Regions from separate parts of the Homo sapiens genome. Here region 2 is linked to region 1. Evidence: promoter capture Hi-C in 16 types of primary human blood cells and fetal thymus (Javierre and others, 2016). All regions are on one chromosome and are shown on one strand. The core of a region is centred on a gene start or on the middle of the fragment in contact, and the rest is flanking DNA. Distances in the headings are between cores, read along the strand shown. Region 1 holds the start of RARG (retinoic acid receptor gamma). Region 2 has its middle 6.7 kb from the start of SP7.

Region 1 (6,217 bases), core at 2,473-4,972:
GAGCAGACTGGCTGAGGGCCAGGACATCAATTCCAGGGCCTTTGCACATACTCTTGAGCAGCACATATATTTCACTGCCCTTCCTTCTCTCTAATCTCCCTCATTTTTTCTCCGAAGACTTTCCTGATCTCCTTGGCGGAGAATACTCCTCTGCTCCATTCTCATGGTCCCTCATGCCTCTCCACACTGATTATTCTAGTTGCAGTTTTGTGGATTATTTGGTTAACAACTGACTCCATCCGACTGTGAACTTGCCAGGGACCATACCTGGGTATTCCCAGAACCTAGCACAGTGCTTATCACATAGTGGATGCCTAATAAAGATTTGTTGAATTAATGCATGGTGCCTGTTCAGGGAAGAAATTCCCAGAGGTGTTTAGGCTAATCCTAAAATCCTGAGCTTCAAAATTAAGTCCTTATTCTATGTGGGGATCTGGGCAGCACTGGGGCTGGTAAGGACCTTCTACACACAAACTCCCTCACCAGGAGAGTCAACGAGCTGGCAAGCAGCAGAATAGGCCTAGTACAAGGGATGGAGTGGAGCAAGCACCAGAGGCAGGGCTGGCACCAGCACTGGCACAGAGCTTGCCTAGGGGGAGGAGGTGGGAGAGGAGAGGAGGAAGGGAAAAGAGAGGACACGTGTTGTACAAAACATGTTTTCATCACGCTCTCCCTGGGTGCCCTGGTCCCCAAGCCCTGACAGCACTTCCATGCCTTAATGATGTCTTTGGGGGCTGCAACACAGCTCCCCCACCACCCCCTATAGTCATCTGCCAGACACCTCTGAGCATGGCATAGGACATCCCCCACACCACCAGATTTGGGCATGGGGAAATGACCTATTCAGTGTCCTGATGCCGGAGGGTTGGGAGGGGGTGAGGGTGAAAATTAGGGTGGGGCAATTTTCATCCTCACCACTGTCCGCCCCCCCAGCATCAGGGCACTGAATAAGTCATTTCCCCATGACTTTCAGGACAGGTGGGACAGATATCTGCATCCTTTTCCTCTCCTCATAATCTCTCCTTTTGGTCTTTGCTCTGGGATGAGGGGAGCAAACAAAGCCTGGTACTAGGGCCCCCAAGATATCATTTCTCCAAGTTGCCAGGGTGACAAAGTAGAGCAGCCACAAACAGAGCAAAGCCTAGAAATAGGGATGACCCAAGGGAAAGAGGAATGAGGGGAGCCCCCTCCACCAGTTTCCAGAGTGGGAAGCCCTCTTCCCAAGCCTCCTCCTGGAATCTCTGGACAGAAAGCTGGCTCTGTTGCAAGCTGGGGAGTGGAGGGTGGGGAGAAGAATCTGAAGCCCTCACAATGCCCCTCTTCCCTGTCCCCCAATCTGCTGCTGCTGTTTGGTTTGACTTCCAAACTGCTGCAGTGAACAGACCCCAGTCACTGGGTCCTGGGGAGGGGCGGTAGAGGGGGCGGGGGTGGAAGCAGTGGCAATCCCAAGGGGAGGGGCCGGCATAGGGCGGGTCTTCCTGGGCATCGCTGCTTGGCTGCTGTCGTCGGCTGGGGACGAGGAGGCCGCCAGAAGGGAGGAGCTACAGTTACCAAGACGGATGGATAGACAAACGCCCACCAGAGACAAAGACCCGGGCAGACAGACAGACAAACCAAGACAAAGGGAGGGCAGAGACAGTTGGAATTCTGACTCCCTCTGTTTTCAGAGGCTACCCCAAGTGTTTTGTCCCCCGATTTAGGCTTCCCTGGCCCCATTTGCTACCTAGATGCACTGTCTCAGAGCTCCAGCTGTAGATCTTTGGGACCAACCCTAAGCCCCTCTACAGAAGGAGAAGGGAAGAGTTCAGAGAGATGATACTCAGCAGGGAGAGGAGAGTGTCACGGGTGGTGCCTGGTTCTGTGTCAGAATGCCTGGCCAAGGAGGGAGTGGTGCCCTTGCCTGGTTCATGAGGACAGGAGGCTCATTCACTGTAAACCAAGTACAGATGTGCTGGAAGGGGGAGGGGGAAATTAGGGCCACATTCCCAAACCACAACTGGGCCCGCCCTCCTCCCACCAGCCACCACTAGGGCAGGGCAGGAGGGGTTAACTTTGCAGCCTCTTGGCAGGAGCCCTGCCACACAGGCGGGGCGCCATCCCACCCCAGCCTGGACGCCTGGGTCCAACTCCCTGACACCCGCCCCTCCCACACTGCTGAGAGCTGCTCCCAGGGTAACCAAGCAAAGTCAACAGCAGCTAGGCCACCTGGGGACGGGACCCTGGAGTATCTATTCCTAGCTCTTCCTATCCCTGGAGTGAAAGAGAGGGCTTGTCTGCACCCCCATTGCCATCTCCCATTCCCTGAGGTAACCACAGCATGCCTCTTCTTTCCCCCATCTCCTTCACCTGACTTTGGCTACCAAAAGCAGCCTTTCCCAGGAGGGAGGACACCTGGCCCCCAGGGGGGAGCAAGGACAAAGCCAAGTAATTCCAGTATGGAAAATGTGACGTGACCCAGGAGTCTGTGTCCCAGGTCCTGGTCACCCTGCGAGCATTGCTGGGGAAGGTACTTTGGGTATGTCTGTCCAGCCTATCAGCCTAGCTCAGACTCTCCCCTTCTCCTCTTTCTCCCTCCCAACTCCAGTCCCCATGGGAGTGTTTGGGATCCGTGCACAGAGCTTGGACTGCAGACCCATTCTTTTCTCTCCCTCTGTCCTCAGTAGAATGCAGAGTGAAACCACTGGGTTCTCTCACTCTAGGGTTGAGAGTCTGTCTATGTTGAAGCAGATAATGCCCCCATCAGACACAGACACTCACTCTCGGCACTGGCATGCGCACGCGCTTGCACAGACACACACACACACACACGCACACACACACACACCCGGAGTCAACAGCATTCATGGCACATCTACCAGGCAGGCAGGCAGGCAGGCCGGTGCTGGCTAGGGCAGACACACACCCTCTGCCTGGGCTTTCTCTCTCACACCCAGCCCAAGGCTCCTCCCACTCCCAGCCACAGTTCCTCCTGCCCTCCTCTCCAGCCTCTCCCCTTCCAAATCCAGGCCTAAAGGTGGGGGACAACTGGCAGCCAGGGACCCAGGCGCCCTAACTCCTGGAGCTTACTCCAGGCAAGATGACAGGGAAGATGTCTGTGAGCCCTGGCCTCAGCACCCCCAGCAACAGCCACTAGTCAACCAGTTTGCTCCTGGGACCAAAGGACTGAGGTGGGCTAGGGGAAGGGAGAGGCTACTTGGATCTGCAGGTGAAGGCTGAGCAAAGAGTAAGGGCAGGAGCATCTATTCTAGATCTGGCATACTCCTGCCCGGCCAATCCAGCACTGGGAGGGAGTGGGTACCGCCCCATTGCCTACCCTGGGGAGGCGCCAGAGACTGGCCTCGCAAGAGTCACAGCCTGGCCACAGACAACTCAACTAGTCCCCCCAAAAGGCAGAAAGGAGAAAAGTGCCAGAGAGAAAAGGTTGGCATCACGGGGCCAGGACACTGACCTCCTCTGCCAGCCGTGCCCGGCCTCCCAGAGGATGGAGTCACGGAAGCCTAGCAAATGGGAAGGGCAGAGACCCAGGCGTCCCGGGCCGCCCCGCCCAGTCCCCCTCCCGCCCACCCATCCCTCCGCCCCCCAGCCCCAGGGCACAGAGGAGGGAGCCGGGCAGGGGCAGGCAGGGGAGGGAGGAGCGAGGGCGGGAGGGGGAGGAGGGAGTTGGGCAGGGAGGGAGGTTGGGGGGGGGGTGGGGAGGGAGAAAAAGAAAGAAAATATTTTCCGTGTCCCCGCCTGCAGAGTCAGTGTGCGGTTTGGGAGAAAATGTGTCGGATATTTTGGGGCGGTCACGTGGGCGGGCGGGCTCCGAGAGGCCCCGGGACAGTCCCAGCCTAGAGCCGTGCCCCCCCAGGAGCCCCCCAGTACGGCGAGCCCCGGACATTGCGACGCTCCATCCAAGAGACTGCCCGACGCCGGGACCTCGGGGCTCCGCCGCCTCCCTTCCCCCTCCCACTCCAGGTGAGTCAGGCGGGGAAGCAGGCTCGCCCGCCCCGTCGCCTGGGTCCTCCGGCGAGGCGGCTGGGGGAGGGGGCGCGGAGGAGCTGCACGGGCGAATGCCCTCCCGAGGCTGGCCAGGCTGGCCGCCGGGCTTGAGGGGGGCTTCTTGCCCCGACCCAGGCCAGTCCTGCTGTGGGAAGGGAATGGGGAAGATTTTAACAGGCTGAGGATGGGCTGGGTCATCTGCCCTTCATTTTGGTGCATAGCAGAGGACAGCATTTGGGGAAGTCTTCAGCCAGGGGGCATTCCTCCTTATATTTTTGTGCTGGGAATGTGAGAGAAGACAGGGTTTCCTCTCGCGGGGAAAGACTACCACCCCCTTACCCCCGGGCTCTGAGGGGTAGATTTGATGTTCCATGCTGGTCCAAGTTCCTCCCTCCCCAGTGGAATGGGACAGCTTGGACATCAGAAGGCAAGGAAAACGTCCAGAGGCAAGTGAGCCTGGCCCTCCGCGTCCAGGAGTTCCGAAGGACTGGTGCATAGGATAGGGATCTGTGAACTTTCCTTGAAGCGCTGGATTCCCTCCCACACGTTCCCAGCCCAGGTGCGAGCCTTGGCTCCCTCCAGCCAAGGTGGGGGGCACCTCTGGAGTATTCTTGAGGGAAGCCCAAATGGAACAAAGAAAGAGCAGGAAGACCGGGACAGGGACCCAGGAGTGCTGGTCCCAGAGTTCCACTGACGCTGCCTCTCTGTCTTTAGCAGCTACGGCCCAGTTCCCTCAACCTGACCCAGTATGTAGAAGCCAGTCTCTGCAGGCGGCCAGCGGGTAAGAAGATGCTTGGTTGTTAGTGGTGGTGGGGGCAGGGGAGCCTGAGTAGGAGGTCTTCAGGGCAAGAAACTGAGATGACTGTCCCGCTTTAGGGCTCTGGTCCTGGGCAGCTGGAATCCCAATCCTCAAGTCTGAGGCTTCTGCCCTTAGGGTCAGATGCTGAGTTGGGGTCAAGGACCATAGCCAGCATCTCATATCCTTGAGGCAAGTAGAGAGAAGACAGGGGAGTGGGGGTAGTGTGTGCAGGGAGCCTGGAGCTTGGGTATCCCATATAGACAGACATACACACACACACACACACACACACACACACACACACACACACACACGCACTGTGGCCTACAGCCTAGTAGGCAGCATGGGGCACGCCCCCCCACACCCCGGCACACCCCCACCCCTGGCTCAGAAAGCCACCTAACTGGCACCTCCAGTTCCCCCCTCTGCCCCACCCTGTCCATGCCCTCTGATGCCCACACACATTCCACTGGCATTGCCTGCCTGCCTCCTGGGCACTGCCCCTCCCTGGGGCTAGTAGGGTGGAGGGAGGGCACCTGGGGATGAGAGGTGGAGACTCAAGGGTCTGGACTCCCCCAGGGATGGCACAATGCCAAGGAAGCCTGGCCCACTGCTGCCTCCTGGGGAGCAGGCTGGGGGCCCAGGCTAGAGCAGAGGATGCCTGGGTTCTCTGCCCAGGCTGGAGATGGGGTCATGGAAAAAGGTGGTCGTGTTTATACAGAGGGGAGGGGGGCAGCGGGTGGAGAGTGGCCGACAAGAGCAGCTTTGTTCCAGGCTCTGGAGCGGGCAGGGCGACAGGGAAACACACCCCCCTCCATCCGGCAGCCCCCTTCATCCATGCCCTCCCCTCAACTCCACCTCAGCTCTAAGAGAAGCAGCTTTGTAAGAGCCCCTCTCCCCTAGTCTGTCATCCCCGCTGCCCCACCATTTGAGATGGCATCTTAGTAGAGGAAGAATGTTCTCTACTTTCCATGAGTCCCCCAAAGAACCAAGGCACCTGGGGCCTCAGTTTAGGACTTCCTTTTACTCTGCACTGCCTTCAATTCCTTAGTCCATTCTCCTACCCTGGGTTTAAGACCCTCCCCTTCTCTTCCCAGCCACGACAGAACCAAGGCTCAGAAATGGGAGGAATCTCTACCCCCTTCCTCTCTTCACTCAACTCCCAAGTCCCTTCTCTGAGGCAAAATAAGAGGAAGGCCAAGGACAACTCTCATTGGCTCACATGCAGCATCATTCCTTGGTGAGGATCAGGAGCTGAGCATCCCTCTGTGGGGACCCCCACTGCCCTACCTGCCTGTGTTTCCCATTGGTAGGTGAGAAGCAAAGACAAGGAGGGCTAAGGCAGAGAGCCCTGTTCCCAGTCTAAGCCAAGTCTGGGGAACATGGGGATGGGGGAGTCCTCTAGTAGCTTCTCACCCTTGTCATTGGAGGGGTTAA
Region 2 (6,217 bases), core at 2,600-5,099, 110 kb before region 1:
GGGGGTGATGGTGAGAGCCTGGCTCCCTCTCCTCCTCCCCCATCCCTTCTCCCATCTGGCCTTGATCAGCCGGTCCCTAGGGAGGGAGCCGCGGTTTCGGATACAGGAAAATGTTCCAGGAAGCGGCCACTGTGCTGGGCCCTGCTCTGGCTCCCCCAGCGGAAATTGTTCCAGGAGGGAGGGAGGAAGGGAGTGTTGAGATAGGATTAAGGGAGGAGTGGGTTGGTTCTTGGCTCCCCTTTCCACAGGATAAAGCTGGATAAGTTGATGGGAAGCTCAGGTCAGCCAGGAACCTGGATGCTGCCACTGAAATCACTGAATGCAGGAAAATGGGCCAGCAAAAGAGGGTCCCCTTGCCTATCTGCTTCTCTTTTTAATGAAGTTTCAGTATTGGGACGAGGGTGGCCCCTGAGGGTCCCTCTTCTGGCCCTGCTATCATGTACACAAGCTGGAGACCAGAGCACCTGGGTCTTGTCTGAAAGTGGTGTGGCTTGGTGGGGAGGTAGGGGGCATACGATTCAGCTCCCTTTTCTCCCAACTGAGGGGGCTTTGAAGCTTGGATCCAGGACTGGGAGGGCTGCCTAATTGGGATAATGGAGGTTAATGGGGCGCCTGGAGGGGGTTGCCACGCTCCTAGATCAAAGGGGCCAGCTCTTCCCAGCCACCACAGCTGGAGGTCACAGCTGGAGGGGGAGGGGGAGGGGCTTCGGGCCAGCCAGCAGGGGGTGCTCCGGCCCTGGAAAGCCCGTCCTCTGAGTCTCTGATTCTCTTCTTCGCTTGGAACGGCTTTTGCTTAGAGAGTGCATTGGGGAGCGGAGGATAAGAGAATGGGGGAGCTCTGAGATCCCTACTCCTCTCTGTGTGGGGTGATGGGGAAGAGAAAGGGCATGAGAGACTGGCAGGCTGGGGGCCAACGGGATGTTGGCACCGTCGGGACCTCGGGCACTGCAAGATCCGGAGGAAGAAGCTTGGATGCAGCCTCGAGAAAGCTACGGCGGAAGAGGCAGGACTCCGGTCCTGGGTTCGGGCGGCTGAGAAAGGACTGGGCCGGGCAGCGGGGGGCGCTGGCTGGGCGGAGGCGAAGGGGCATCCGGAGTTCCCCCGCCGCCGCCCCCTCCCCCGGGCTGGCGCTCCCTCTCGGGCTCTAATCGGCGCGGCGGCCGCAGCGGGCAGAGTCAGCGCCGCCAGTCTCCGGGACGCGACTCCCAGCAATTGTGGTCGGGACCGCAGATATGCAGCTGCCTCCTGCCCGGGCGCCTGGCCCGGCCGGCCCCGCCCGCGCCCCGCCCCCTGCCGCCCGCCCCTCGGCCGCGCCGGGACACTGAGGCACGGGATGGAGGCGAGATCCCCGGCGGCCCTGAGCCTGGCCTAGGCCGCAAGAGACCTCCCAGCAGCCCCGGAGCTCACGACCTGTCCTGTCCTTCTGAGGGTGCCTATCTCCCCCACAGCTGTGGCTGGGGGCTAAGACCCCCCAAATCCTGCCTCAGCTTCAACCGTCCTTCTTGCCTCACACGTCCACGCGAGGTGGGGGTGGATGGGGGCATTGAACAGCGCTTTGAAATCCAGAGGGGGGCGTCCCATTGAGGCTATGTGGGGAGGAGGTGTTAATGTTGGTAGCTGAGTCCCAAGGACCTTCATTAACTGAGGCGGTGGAAAGTGGGCCTAGGTAGGCTTATAACTTACAGCGGGTTCCTATGTAGGGGAGGTGATGGAAGGTGGGGAGAGGGAGAAATGGGTGAAAAGGGGGAAAGGAAATAGTTCAGGAGGGATTGGGGCAGAGGGCAGAGGCGGGGGTTCTTCTGGGAGACTGAGGGCCAGGTCCTCAGATACTGCCCTGGCCCTTCACTGTTGGCCGGATCCAGCAACTGTCAAGAGCCATTCTCAGAACTGAATAGATACCTCTAAAATGCCTGCATATCCTGTGTGCAAGTGCACACATCAACACACAGATCAAGGGAAGTCATGTGTGACTACTCACCCCTCACATCTGATTGGACACCAAATCCTCTCCACCTCACATCCTCAATATCACCCCTTCATTGACTTATTTTTTTATTTTTTTTTTTCTTGAGACAGAGTCTGGCTCTGTCGCCCAGGCTGCAGAGCAGTGGCACAATCTCAGCTCACTGCAACCTCCGCCTCCCAGGCTCAAGAGATTCTCATGTCTCAGCCTCCCAAGTAGCTGGGATTACAGGCATGTGCCAAAAATTGGCACAGCCAATTTTTGTATTTTTAGTAGAGAAGGGGTTTCACCATGTTGGCCAGGCTGGTCTCAAACTCCTGGGCTCAAGTGATCTGCCCGCCTTGGCCTTTCAAAGTGCTGGTATGTGCCACCGTGCTGGCCCCCTCCACTGACTTCTGCTCATCCTCTCTGCTACTGCAGGCCACACCTTCCCACATCTTGCTTGGACTGCTGCAACAGATTGTTTCCTTGCCTCCGATTTTGCCCTTCTCCCAACTGTGACAATACTGCTAGGCACCATTTATGGAGCAACTACTAAGTGCCAGACACTGTGCTAAGAACTCAACACTTTTTATTGCTAATCCTTGTAACAACCCTGGGAGGTTACCATATTAAGTTGCCCCTTTCAACAGGAGAGGAATCTTAGGCCTCAAAGGTTAAATAGCTCACCCAAGCTTGCACCATTGTAAATGCCTGATTTACCCAGAACCGCCTGGCTCTAAGCCCTTATTTCATTCTCCTCTCTGAAGTCAGTCATTTCTCTAATATACGAGTATTCTCATATATTGCCTTTGGATCAAGTCTAGGCCCCTTGCATAGCTGATTAGAACTTCTCCATCAGCCTCCACTCTGTGTTGCACTCACACTCAATTTTCAGCATCTCAAAAGTTGTTAATCCCTCATACCTCTGAGCCTTTGCATATACTCTTCCCCCTTCCTACAACACTCTTCCTTTTTTTTTTCTTTTAGACAAGGTCTCATTCTGTCACCCAGACTATGTTTTTTTTTTTTTGTATTTTTTGTAGAGATGGGGTTTCGTCATGTTGCCCAGGCTGGTCTCAAACTCCTAGACTCAAGTGATCCACCCACCTCAGCCTCCCAAAGTGCTGGGATTACAGGCATGAGCCACTGCACTGGCACCACTCTTCCTTTTTTTACTTGATAACTCTTATTTGTCCTTCAGTTTCTTTACTTAGTCATGCTGTCTTCCAGGAAGCCTTCCTTAATTCCCCCCCAACACTGGCTTAGATTTACTCTTTTGTCTCCTATAACATCCAGTACTTATTTTTTATTTTATTTTATTTTTATTATTTATTATTTATTTATTTATTTATTTTTTGAGACGGAGTCTCTCTGTGTCACCTAGGCTGGGATGCAGTGGCACAATCTTGGCTCACTGCAACCCCCGCCTCCCAGGTTCAAGCAATTCTCTGCCTCAGCCTCCCAAGTAGCTGGGATTACAGGCATCTGCCACCACATCTGGCTAATTTTTTTGTATTTTTAGTAGAGATGGGGTTTCACCATCTTGGCCAGGCTAGTCTCGAACTCCTGACCTTATGATCTACCCACCTTGGCCTCCTACAGTGTTGGAATTACAGGCGTGAGCCACCACGCCTGGCCCTCCAGTACTTATTCTATCGAGATACTTCCTACTCTTTTGTATTAGTTGCTGGTTAGTTTGTGAGGTGAAGGGATGAGTCTGTCTTGCTTGTTATTGCATGCCTAAGTCTAGCCCAGTGTGCTTAGCACAAAGTAGGTGCTTTCTGAACATTTGTTGAATGAAAGAATGTTCTTTAAGTTCATTCCACATTTCAAAAATCTGGGCTCCGAGGAAGAATGCAGCAGGCCAGAGAAAGCGGGGAGACGTGTGTATTTAGGAATTTTTTTTTTTTTAAATGGAGTCTCGCTTGTCTTCCAGGCTGGAGTGCAGTGGCACAATCTCGGCTCACTGCAATCTCTGCCTTCTGGGTTCAAGTGATTCTCCTACCTCAGCCTCCAGAGTAGCTGGGATTACAGGCACGCGCCACCACACCCAGCTAATTTTTGTATTTTTAGTAGAGACAGGGTTTGTTTGTTTGTTTTTTGTTTTTTTTTTTGAGACGGAGTCTCGCTCTGTCGCCCAGGCTGGGGTGCAGTGGCGCGATCTCGGCTCACTGCAAGCTCCACCTCCCGGTCACGCCATTCTTCTGCCTCAGCCTACCAAGTAGCTGGGACTACAGGCGCCCGCCACCACGCCCGGCTAATTTTTTGTATTTTTAGTAGAGACAGGGTTTCACCATGTTAGCCAGGATGGTCTCGATCTCCTGACCTCGTGATCCGCCCTCCTCAGCCTCTCAAAGTGCTGGGATTACAGGCATGAGCCACCTCGGCCAGCCTGAGACAGGGTTTTGCCATGTTGGCCACGCTAGTCTCAAACTTCTGACCTCAGGTGATCCACCCACCTCGGCCTCCCAAAGTGCTGGGATTACAGGTGTGAGCCACCTCACCAGGCCTGTATTTAGGATTTTGAAGGACCATTCCCTTGAGTTGCTCAGCCTCACTCCTAGGGATGATGTGATCAGAACTCCATCACCCCAACTTCTTCTTATGAAAGACACTAGTATATTTCATGGATCAGATTCTAGGGTATCGTTTTTACAAAGGGTCATTTTCTAGAGATGACCAGGTTCTTACTTAATTCAATGTTGTCCCATTTTAGACACGGGCATCCAGGACAGGTCCCCTTGTTTCAGAATCAGACCCCAGTCTTCCTCTTCCTTTCATTTTTCACTTTGTCCCCTGCCATCCAGATTCCTTCCTGCTCCTTCCATGGCACTTCTGTTTCTGATTCTGATCTGCCTCTCCTAAAGCTGCTGAATTATATCAGGGCTCAATGTCAATGAAGGAACCCAAGGCTCAGGGAAGAGGGGAGCCAGAGTCAGTCCCAGAGGTCCTGCCTTGCAGCCCTGGTGCTGGAAGAGGGGATGGGGAGACCTAGCAGAGAGGGAGGGAAGTTGTAGTCTGTCTGTACCTGTAAATTTGTGTACATATTTGTTGGGGTGAGGAACTCCTTTTCCAAGCTGTCCTATACAAAGGTTGCCAGCCTCTTAAAAGCTTCCTTTCTACCCTGTGTCCTCAGCTTTGCCTCCTAAAATTGGATCCTCTTCCCCAAGTACCCTGAGCCTAGTGTCAGAAATGCTGGGTCAAGGCACTCGGCAGTCTCTAAATCCTGAGGCCATGAATGGATGTTCCTTCAACCCAAGGAGCAAGCTTTCCTGGTCATCAGCCCCATTGCTCTTAGAGGACCCAACAGACTAGTAGCTGATCCTCAGGGTCTCTCATCTGTATGCCCACCATTTGTTGTTTCCTCTTTGTCTCTCCTGTGTCTTTCTGTTTCCCTGTCTCTGCGTGCCTTCTTCTTTCCTGTCCCCTCTATGTTCTCTGTCGCTGGAGTATCCACTGGAGACAAGGGCTGGGCTGGGTGCATGGGCGGGTAGTGGCCAGACCAGGGGCCCGGGACATGAGCGCAACTTTCCAAGCTTCTCTTCCAGGCCCCTGTGGTTGGGGAGCTCCACAGAGGGAGAGATGAGTCAGCGGGGCCGCAGAGCAGCGGGGGCCTGGGTGGGGGTAGGGATGCTGGGGTTCCCCAGGACCAGGGAGTTCGCTGGGGCCATCTGGGTCTCTGAACTCTGGTGTGTGTGTGGAGTATTGGATCAAAAGTACCTAAAGGTACACTGGAACTTCTTATACTAGTAGGAGTTGGAGGCAGCAATTTGCAGGACTGGCAGTGGCCTCCATATCACCCTTATCTCCAGATCCTTATAGGGAGAGGGGTTCCCAAATGCCCTTTAGGAGACCACAGAGATCTCCAGGGCTGTAAAGTTGTAATGGTAGCCCTGGGTATATGTATGTGACATTTGCCACATGTGTAGATACGTGTGTTGATGGGAGTCTGTGAGTCCATGTGGGGAGTATTCTAGGTGGCTGTGAGTCTGTATGCATGTATATATATACTGGTGTGTGCATTTTTATGATTGGGGGTTAGGGTGTCTTGGGGTAAGCATTATCTGTATATGTATATATCAGTGTGTGTCAATATGGATGCCTGCATAGTACAAATGTGTATGAATTATGTGTCACCTTGTGTGTGTGCAAGTATGCAGATCTGAATGTGTCTGTCATCAGGTATGTATTAGGGCATGTGTCAGTCTCTATTTCAGGGGCTCTGCTCACTATTCTCTGGTGATTCTCCCTAGGGTAGTCAAACCTTCTATA

The links. The method cuts DNA at HindIII sites, captures the fragments that hold promoters and counts their contacts. A CHiCAGO score of 5 or more calls a contact.
Region 2: a fragment that was not itself captured here is called in contact with the fragment with the promoter of RARG in region 1 in 1 of 17 cell types (total B cells); the score reaches 5.2 in total B cells.

What each region holds. Positions count from the first base shown.
Region 1 is chr12:53,229,714-53,235,930 of GRCh38, reverse strand. RARG (retinoic acid receptor gamma) reads left to right here and starts at 3,722. Exons shown (of 10, transcript NM_000966.6): 1 at 3,722-3,957; 2 at 4,696-4,762. RefSeq lists silencers at 3,537-3,586, 3,907-4,036. The HindIII fragment of the contact is 21,807 bases long and covers 1-6,217 here.
Region 2 is chr12:53,339,900-53,346,116 of GRCh38, reverse strand. It overlaps a transcript of SP7 not described here. Among named protein-coding and RNA genes, the nearest start is that of SP7, 6.7 kb to the right of the region's middle. RefSeq lists silencers at 636-695, 1,086-1,255. The HindIII fragment of the contact is 2,419 bases long and covers 2,640-5,058 here.